Regions from separate parts of the Homo sapiens genome. Here all the other regions are linked to region 2. Evidence: promoter capture Hi-C in human tissues and cell types (Jung and others, 2019). All regions are on one chromosome and are shown on one strand. The core of a region is centred on a gene start or on the middle of the fragment in contact, and the rest is flanking DNA. Distances in the headings are between cores, read along the strand shown.

Region 1 (3,330 bases), core at 420-2,919, 510 kb after region 2:
AGGAGCCAGACTTCCCACAAAGGAAAGAGTGGATCCTACACGCTGCAGACAAAAGGACAGAAAGTTCAGACTTGGCTAGGATAAGGGAAGGAGGATTAAGTTCCCACCACTATGACAATGAGGTTAGAAAAAGTATCGCCAGGCCGGGTGCGGTGGCTCATACCTGTAATCCCAGCACTTTGGGAGGCCGAGGCGGGTGGATCACGAGGTCAGGAGATCGATACCATCCTGGCTAACACGGTGAAACCCTGTCTCTACTAAAAATACAAAAAATTAGCCGGGCGTGGTGGCAGGCACCTGTAGTCCCAGCTACTCAGGAGGTTGAGGCAGGAGAATGGCGTGAACCCGGGAGGCGGAGCTTGCAGTGAGCCTAGATTGCGCCACTGCACTCCAGCCTGGGCAATAGAGCAAAAAACTCCGTCTCAAAAAAAAAAAAAAAAAAAGAAAAGAAAAAGAATTCCCAAATGACAATGACACAGGACATACACACAGTTCTGCTGACACCCGGCACTTTATTAGTGGGGAAACTCGCCTTGGTCTGGCAGAGACTGGGATCAACAGGACCAGCACCCATCTCGAGGTGGTATTTTCTGTAAGATCAGGTGTTCCTCCCTCGTAGGTTTAGAGGAAACACCCTCATAGATGAAAACCCCCCCGAGACAGCAGCACTGCAACTGCCAAGCAGCCGGGGTAGGAGGGGCGCCCTAGGCACAGCTGGGCCCTTGAGACAGCAGGGCTTCGATGTCAGGCTCGATGTCAATGGTCTGGAAGCGGCGGCTGTACCTGCGTAGGGGCACACCGTCAGGGCCCACCAGGAACTTCTCAAAGTTCCAGGCAACATCGTTGCGACACACCGGAGACCAGGTGATGAGCTTGGGGTCGGTCATAAGCGCGGTGGCGTCGTCGCTGGGAGCTGGCAGGGCCTCCCGCAGGAAGGCGAAGAGAGGGTGCGCCCCCGCACCGTTCACCTCGCACTTCTCGAAGAGCATGAAGTTGGGCTCGAACCCACCACCAGGCCGGACGTACTTGAGGGAATTCAGAATCTCTTCGTTCTTGGCGTTCTCCTACAGGAGAGAAGGGCAGCTAGAACCCGGGGTCAAGAGGAGGAGAGAAACGTTCTAACCACAAACAAGGGAGATTTTCTATGAGTCACCGGGATTTTGCCCTCCATGCGCAATCCCAAGGGCGGAGAGGAATTTCAGCAGCTACGAGCAACAGAAAGGAAACGAGAGAGTAGCCAGACTCTCCGCGCATGGAGCCGACGGCACCCACCAGCACACCGCCGGCGCCCCCAGCCACTACTGCACGTCCGCCCCCGCCCCGCCCCGCTCCGCCCGGCGCACCTGATGCCCAAACTGGTTGCACGGGAAGCCGAGCACCACCAGGCCCCGGGGTCCGAGGCGCCGCTGCAGCTCGTTCATCTGGGTGTAGTCCCGGACCGTGGTGCCTCAGAGGGACGCCACATTCTCGATAAGTAGTACCTTGCCCCGCAGGGAGCCCAGGCTCACAGGCTCCCCGCCGGCCAGCGGGCGCGCCGAGAAGGCATACACCGACTGGGCCGCCGCCGCCGCCGCCGCTAGCCGAGCAGCACACATGGCGCAATTGTCCAAGAAGCCAGCGGAGCGCCCCGAACAAGCACTGTAAGGGGAGGCCAGCAGGCGCCTCCTTTTAACTGGCCGGCGGCGGGTCACGTGGCACAGGCAGTTTTCCGGGCCTGAGGGTCCCGCCTCATCCGGCCCCCGCCCTACCCGGAGGGCTCGGCCCCTCCTCAGCCAGGAAAAGGCTGGAGAGTGCGCCCGAGCGGGACGCGTGCTCCTCCTAAGCCGGAAGGAGCAGCAGGCATGTCTGGTCTGGCCCAGGCAACCAGGCGGCAGCGGTCCAGGTTACCCTTCCAAGGGCTGGGGCCCTCGAGGGCTCCGTTTTTTCTCAGAGGTTCCTGAGTTAGGATGTGGGGTTTGGCATAGGAGGCTGGTGGGCGACGGCAGCAGCTGCAGGAGCTGCCCGTGCACAAACAGCCCTCCTCTCCTGTGCCATGTTACCGGCAGTGCAGGGGACAGCCAGAGGGATCTAGGCTTCCGGTCTCCCTCCTCCCTGTCTCCAAAGCGGCACCGCCCTCGTGCGGGTTTTCTAACCGGGCAGAGTCCTGGAAGCTCTGCCCCAGCCTCCTTAAGTGGAGCCCAGTAGCTCGCCGAGGCCAAGGAAACGCTGCCGGAGTCCTCCCTCCCTGGCCTCCTCAGGCTGCATTCACCCTACCCCCAAATCTGAACCAGAATGCGGTACAGGGTAATCATTTCCATGTTGTTGGGAGGGACCAGATTAGCTGCTGGGTGGGTGGGAGGTGGGGCACAAGCTAGTCCTTTGCACTCAACAAACCTCTCCAGGGTGAGCTAGGCCAGGAAGTCCTTGCATCCTCCTACCCCCAGCCCTGGAGAGAGCAACACAAACAACAGGATACAGGAAGTTTAGAAAACTGCCTTTATTCTATTAGTAGTTGGAAAAATTAACTGGTACAGAAAAAAAGTTTAGTCAGCTGGAGAGAAGAGAGACTGAGTGCCACCCATGAGAACTGGTGGCTCCTCTGGGAGGGAACCTGGATACAGTGAGGAGAAAAGAGCACTGTGAATTAGAGCCAGATGCTTAAGTCCAGGTGAGACAGGTTATGCCATCTTCCAAAGTGTCTAATTGCCTCAGGCGTGAAACCAATTCCTATTTACTTAGCCCAGCTCCATGGGGTACTGAGATACATGGGGCCGAAAAGGGGTAATATGGCCATCTTTTATCAGAAAAAGTGACAAAACGGGAATTTAAAAAATGAATTTTCCATCTGACTTTATTTCCAAATACACTTTCTTTTTTAAAAAACCAATACACTTTCTTTGAGGATGACAGTATTAGGAAATCCAATTATACAAAAAATACTACATCTAGTCTGGGGTAGATATATTTATTTTTGGTAACATACATTAAGTGGCACTAATTACACAGTAACTATAAGGTAACTAACATGAAACCACAGAACTGTAACTCTGCCACAGCTGCATGAACTTGGGCTTTTCTGGTTGAGCCCATTTTCAAAAAACTGCCCACCCCAGAGCTATGCCAACAAAATCTGTTACGGAGTAAAGCCCTGAAGTGGTGACTCACCAGAGTACCTTGCAGCTGACAGATAATAGGCAGGACATGTTAGTTATAAAGTAGTTACAGCCTAATTCACAAAAGTTACCAACTGTTTCTCTTTCTAGAAAGAAGCAAGAAGTTAAGAAATTCCTTGAATTAGCGCCTGGTGTGTCAGGTGGGAGTGCAGAGGAGGGCTGTTAGAGCAGTGTCAAA
Region 2 (3,032 bases), core at 159-2,658:
CTCGGCCTCCCAAAGTGCTGGGACTACAGGCGTGACCCACCACGCCCGGCCAGGTTTTTCGTTTTCAAAAATGAGGTAGGGTGTCTATTTTGCCCAGGCTGGTCTCGAACTCTTGGATTCAAGCGATATTTCCTCCTCAGCCTCCAGAGTAGCTGGTATAGACTATAGGGGCCCACTGCCCCGGCCGGCAAGATAATTATTTACTCTCACCAAATTTGATTCAATCGTTTTGGCCAAGTTTTTAAAAATAGGAATATTCCCAGGGACCATGTTTGAAGAAATACAAACTCAAGTAAGCAGAGGTGAAATGACCTGAGAGATTTGCTTTAATACACTTCGGCAAAGAAAGAAAAAAGGTATGGATGAAACTTTGTGACAAACGCAACTGTTAAATGTAGGTGATGGCATATAGGGATTCATCTCACCTTTCCTCTTTTGTCTATGCTTAAAAGTTTTCACAGTAACTTTTCAAAAAAAATTATTATTTCCAAACAAACTTACTGTCCTATCAATTAAACACAAGTCACTGGATGAGAACGCTGTTGTCTTCGAAGCCAAAACTGGTGAAGGGTCTTAAGCAAAGGCGAGGGATCCTCTAGCAGGGCCGACAGCGCGCACGTTTCCTTCAAGGCTGGATCTGACAAATCACTCGGTGCGCTCTAGGGCTCGCAGGATCGCGGAGCTCAATTTGGAAGTGGCGCACGCGGGCTCACGCCGGTGTCTCAGGGAAACGCTAGAAACGCGGCTACAGAGCTCCCAATCCCAGCCTGCGGTCGGCTTGGCTGCGGCGCGACACCTGGCTCCCTGCCACCCCTCTAGACCTCTGGAGACCTCCTGCACCACTCCCCAGGGCCCCGCCCACAGCCTACCTTCCAAGTCCTCGTCCTCCTCCGACTCGCTGTCCCCTTTGGCGTCGGCGACACGGTCCGGGCCGGGTTCTGGCGGGGGGTGGCCCAGGCTCTGGCGTGGGGTGGCGGCGGGCAGGACTGAGGCTGGGGCGCGGGCCTCGCGCAGGCGGGTGAAGTACTCCACTGCGAATTCGACGAGGTCAGGCGGCTGCTGTCGCAGCACCTCCACCGTGTAGCCCTGCAGCAGCTCCGTGAGCCCCGGCGGGATCTGGATGTGGCTCATGCCGGCGGCGGCCGAAGGGATAGACGGGTTGGGCCGCCGGCGGCCACTGTCTCCGCGCTCACTCACGCCGGCCTTTCGCTCCGCGCCCGCGAGGTCTCTTCGCGCACGGCCCCGGCTCACGTCGCGCCGCTCTTTGGCCGGCTCTGCGTTTCCGGGCCGCGCAACCCTACGCTACCACGGCCGACCTGGCACCGCCGCCGCTGTCACTGGGCAGCCGCCGCCGCCGCGGGGACCGACGGGCAGGCGAGCTGGACGGGCGGGGCAGGCGTCCTGGTTGTGACGCACGCCACCGCGGGCGTGCGCGTCCCCGCTTAGCACCGGCCCTCAGTGCGCTTGCGCCACTAGATGACCCGCCCCCTCGGGCTGTCGGGGGGTCGAGACAGTGGAGTGTTCCTGATGCCAGCTCACGGAGGGAATCCAGGGAATTAGGTAATGAACGGTCTACCCATGAAGGGGACCGATTAGTGCCTCTCGCCTGGTCCTGAAGACCTTTAAATTATTCTTTCAGCTGATGCCAAGAGCCTCTTTTTGGCCAGCACTTACTAAGCACCAGAGACACAGCGAGAAGCAGAAGCATACGAGCACATCAGTGTGATTCTGCTGTGATGAAGGGCAAGAGAGGGCTCACTTTCCGGCGTGACATTCAAGCTAGCCCCGAGGCCTGAGCAGGACCCGCCCAGGGGAAGATCTGGAGGAAAGCCATCTGAACATACAACAAGAGCAAAGGCCTGGTGGAGTCAAGACCACCTTGGCTGCCAGGTGGAATGGTGGAATAACTCAGGAGTCTGTCAGGTCTCTGAGATGTCAAACGGGTAAGGCCTTGTAGGAAGTAGGCGTTTGAATGAGATCATAATTTGAGAGCCACAGACAGAAAAATAAATTTGAAAGAGTTCACTCAGCCAAATGTGTACAGTGAGAAAGGGAAATAAGGCCAAAAGCAGCAAAGACCTCTGTGCCTGTTCCTCCTGGAGCACTTTCACCAGGGTCCCCAGATCTAGGTCTGCCCATTCCTCTCCCCACATTCTACACTGGGCCCTAGGTCAACACTGCTTGATGAAGTTGAGCAGACCACAGGCATTGTTATCCTTTGCCCCTGGGAAGATGGTATAGGTGAACTGTAGAGGCCAGACTATTTCCCAAATTGCCCTCCTCCTCCTACCAAACTGGAAGGGTATTGAAAAAGGTGGAGACCTTCCTGGGATGTCCAGTCTACAGCCTACGTGCTAACCAAAGGCCCACTGGGCATAGAGCAGAGTCCCCCTCTCCTTACAGGCCTAGCCAGGAAGAGAGTAGCTGTAGGTTTGGGAACCTGAGGGCATTTGGGATGCTTAAACACCGCCTGGTAATTACTCAGTATTAATTAAAATCCTCCCTATCACCTCCCATACAGGCTTGGCACACACCCAGGAGCTCAATGCTGCTGGGAGCTGAGCAGCTGGGAGCAAGGAGCCCTCATCCCCACTGATGAAGAGGCCAGCCCAGGTTCTAGGCTAAGCAGGCCTGTGATTATAAACAGCAGTGTCTCCCTGGACAAGTTTCTTGACCCTGAGAAGAATGTTAGACCATCAACTTTGTGAGGGGACAGGCAGTCTCCAACTTTTTTCCTGCTCAGTCCTTATTGCATACTCTTGGAGAAGGTCTACTGACTTGTTCTCAGATGCCCCACGGCTCAGCCAACCACCCATCCAGCAGAGCATTCAAAAGGCATCTGGAAGGAATGAGGGCGACCGTTCTGCCAGGCCCCTATTTTTTTTTGAGAGGAGTCTCACTCTGTCGCCCAGGCTGGAGTGCAATGGCATGACCTCTGCTCACTGCAAGCTCTGCCTCCCAGGTTCAAGCGATTCTCCTGTCTCAGCCTCCCAAGTAGCTGGTACTACAGGCGTGCACCACCACACCCAGCA
Region 3 (2,700 bases), core at 109-2,608, 390 kb before region 2:
TTGTTAGAAGCAAATCACTGAGTCTGGGCGTCATTCAAGGGGAGAAACCAAGCTTATACCTTTTTTTTAATTTTTATTTTTTATTTTTATTTTATTATTATACTTTAAATTTTAGGGTACATGTGCACAACGTGCAGGTGTGTTACGTATGTATACATGTGCCATGTTGGTGTGTTGCACCCATTAACTCGTCATTTAGCATTAGGTATATCTCCTAATGCTATCCCTCCCCCCTCCTCCCAAGCTTATACCTTTTGAAGGGGAGTTGTGTCAAAGCATTTGTGGGCCTTTTTTTTTTTTTTTTTGAGGCGGAGTCTCACCCTGTCACCCAGGCTGGAGTGCAATGGCACGATCTCAGCTCACTGCAACTTCCGCCTCCCGGGTTCAAGTGATTCTCCTGCCTCAGACTCCCGAATAGCTGGGATTACAGGCACCTGCCATCATGCTTGTGGGCATATTTTTAAACCATCACAGCATCAATTGACCATGCCAAAAACCTAGCTAGTATGCAGGAATCTGTTTTTCTTTTCTTGTTTTTTTTTTTTTTCTTTGAGGCGGAGTCTCACTCTGTCACCAGGCTGGAGTGCAGTGGCGTGATCTCGGCTCACTGTAACCTCTGCCTCCCATGTTCAAGCGATTCTCCTGCCTCAGCCTCCCGAGTAGCTGGGACTACAGGCATGCGCCACCACACCCAGCTAATTTTTGTATTTTTAGTAGAGACAGGTTTCACCATGTTGGCCTGGATGGTCTCAATCTCATGACCTCGTGATCCACCCACTTCAGCCTCCCAAAATGCTGGGATTACAGGCATGAGCCACCGTGCCCAGCCTCTGTTTTCCTTTTGTAGTCCAGCTTTTGAGTTTTTATAACTCAGTCCAGATTGAGGGGATCTGCTGTTTTTTAGAGAGAGACAATCTAACATCAGTAGGTTTTCAGACTGCTATGTCAGTGTATCTTATAAATCGGATACATTGACCCTCTTCTTACCATCAACCTTTCAAATCCTTGGCCATCATAACACTTCTGAGAAACTGTAGCCCACTTACATTTTTGGCATCTAGCAGCTAAAGGGGCAGTGTACAGTAGTGTTACAAGCAGGCAGTAGAGCCCAGTAGCCTGGATGTGAGTCCCAGTAATGCTGTTAACTGGCTTATATGATTTGGGCAAGTCCTTTAGTCTCTGTGCCTCAGTTTCCCTATATGTAAAACAGACCTAATGATAAATCCTTGTAGGGTCACTGAGGAACAAATGGGCTGATGCGTATAGAGCTCTTAAAACACTGTCTAGCACGTAACAAGCACCATGTCAATGTTAGTGGTCACTGTTTTATCTAATTGCCTCATTTTGAGTGAGGCAAACAGCTTGATTTTCTTTTCCTTTCCTTGTATGAGTTCCTGTTTTACATAAGGAAGGTAAAAGATGCAGGGCTCTTGAGCCGCTTTGGCTCTTGTTTGTTCCAAGTTCGAAGAAGTAGAACAGCGTGTGTTTTAAACTCATTGCATGTAAAAGTTTCTAATATGCCCATGCTTCTGGGCTCAAGTTTTGATTTACATTTTATCACATTTCAGATAGTAAGCCCCACAGTCTGAGAGGTGACTCCATAAAACAAGAAGAGGCCCAGAAAAGCTTTGTTGACAGCTGGAGACAGAGATCAAACACTCAAGGTACCAGAATCCCTGCTTCTCCTGCAGGGGCCTGCATGGCTCTGAGTAATATGCAGAAGAATTGCCCAGGCCTCTGAGAACCGGTGCCCCGGGCAGTCCTTCAGAGAGTCCAGGGAAGTCAAAGTATGTGGCTTAAGCAGAAGACTTTATAAAGTGGAAAGGGCCAAGGGCAGGTATGTCCCAGAGCCTTCCGCACCCACAGGCATCTTCCTGGGGCTTAGTGGCAGCCTAGAGGACAGTTGGCATCCAAAGAATCCTTACTGTTTCCTTCTGAAAGCCACCGAAAAGATCTCCCATGTCAGAACCTTCTAGAGTCATCTTGTCTTCTGCAGGTTCCATTTTGATAAACCTGCTCCTGAAGCAGCCTTTGATCCCAGGGTCATCCCTAAGCCTTTGCCACCTCCTGAGTAGTAGTTCTGAGTCTCCTGCTGGCACCCCCCTGCAGCCACCAGGGTTTGGCAGGTAAGCATAAGACTCCTGGAAAGCTTGTTTGGGAAGGAGCTTCCTGGAAGCAAATTCCTTTCTGGCCCTGGCCAGCCTGAGAAGTCTGTGGGAAGGGCAGGCAGCCTGGAGAATTTGGCAGGCAGGCTGTTTGGGGCTCTTGACCTTATCTCCATCCCACACTTAATCTATTTTTCTTTGTGTTTGTTGCCAGTACCTTGGCTGGAATGTCAGGCCTCAGGACCACAGGTTCTTATGATGGGTCATTTTCCCTCTCAGCCCTGAGAGAAGCACAGAACCTGGCATTCACTGGACTGAATCTGGTTGCCCGGAATGAGTGCTCACGTGATGGAGACCCAGCAGAGGGAGGCAGAAGGGCCTTCCCACTCTGCCAGCTTCCTGGAGCCGTGCATTTCCTCCCCCTTGTACAGTTCTTCATCGGCTTACACTGCCAGGCCCTGCAGGACTTGGCAGCTGCTAAGAGAAGCGGAGCACCTGGGGACTCACCGACACATTCCTCCTGCGTGAGCTCTGGGGTAGAGACCAACCCTGAGGACTCAGTGTGCATCCTGGAAGGCTTCTCTGTGACTGCACT

What was found. The method cuts DNA at HindIII sites, captures the fragments that hold promoters and counts their contacts. A contact is called where the count stands out against the background at its distance.
Region 1: a contact is called between the fragment with the promoter of GPX1 here and the fragment with the promoter of PRKAR2A in region 2, in 1 of the 25 tissues and cell types used here (bladder).
Region 3: a contact is called between a fragment that was not itself captured here and the fragment with the promoter of PRKAR2A in region 2, in 3 of the 25 tissues and cell types used here (aorta, bladder and dorsolateral prefrontal cortex).

Annotation. Positions count from the first base shown.
Region 1 is chr3:49,356,684-49,360,013 of GRCh38, forward strand. It overlaps GPX1 (glutathione peroxidase 1), which reads right to left and starts at 1,670. Exons shown (of 2, transcript NM_000581.4): 1 at 1,344-1,670; 2 at 493-1,064. The coding sequence starts at 1,595. The coding sequence ends at 705. RHOA (ras homolog family member A) reads right to left here. Exons shown (of 5, transcript NM_001664.4): 5 at 2,462-3,330. RefSeq lists enhancers at 1,346-1,954, 1,863-2,192, 1,955-2,563 and a silencer at 1,643-1,702. The HindIII fragment of the contact is 32,276 bases long and covers 1-3,330 here.
Region 2 is chr3:48,846,466-48,849,497 of GRCh38, forward strand. PRKAR2A (protein kinase cAMP-dependent type II regulatory subunit alpha) reads right to left here and starts at 1,409. Exons shown (of 11, transcript NM_004157.4): 1 at 870-1,409. The coding sequence starts at 1,131. It overlaps PRKAR2A-AS1 (PRKAR2A antisense RNA 1), which reads left to right and starts at 1,472. Exons shown (of 3, transcript NR_109997.1): 1 at 1,472-1,560; 2 at 1,640-1,943; 3 at 2,522-3,032. RefSeq lists a silencer at 1,222-1,551. The HindIII fragment of the contact is 13,078 bases long and covers 1-3,032 here.
Region 3 is chr3:48,457,791-48,460,490 of GRCh38, forward strand. It overlaps ATRIP (ATR interacting protein), which reads left to right. Exons shown (of 13, transcript NM_130384.3): 6 at 1,569-1,664; 7 at 1,997-2,126; 8 at 2,320-2,700. It overlaps ATRIP-TREX1 (ATRIP-TREX1 readthrough), which reads left to right. Exons shown (of 15, transcript NR_153405.1): 6 at 1,569-1,664; 7 at 1,997-2,126; 8 at 2,320-2,700. Among named protein-coding and RNA genes, the nearest start is that of TREX1, 7.1 kb to the right of the region's middle. The HindIII fragment of the contact is 6,156 bases long and covers 1-2,700 here.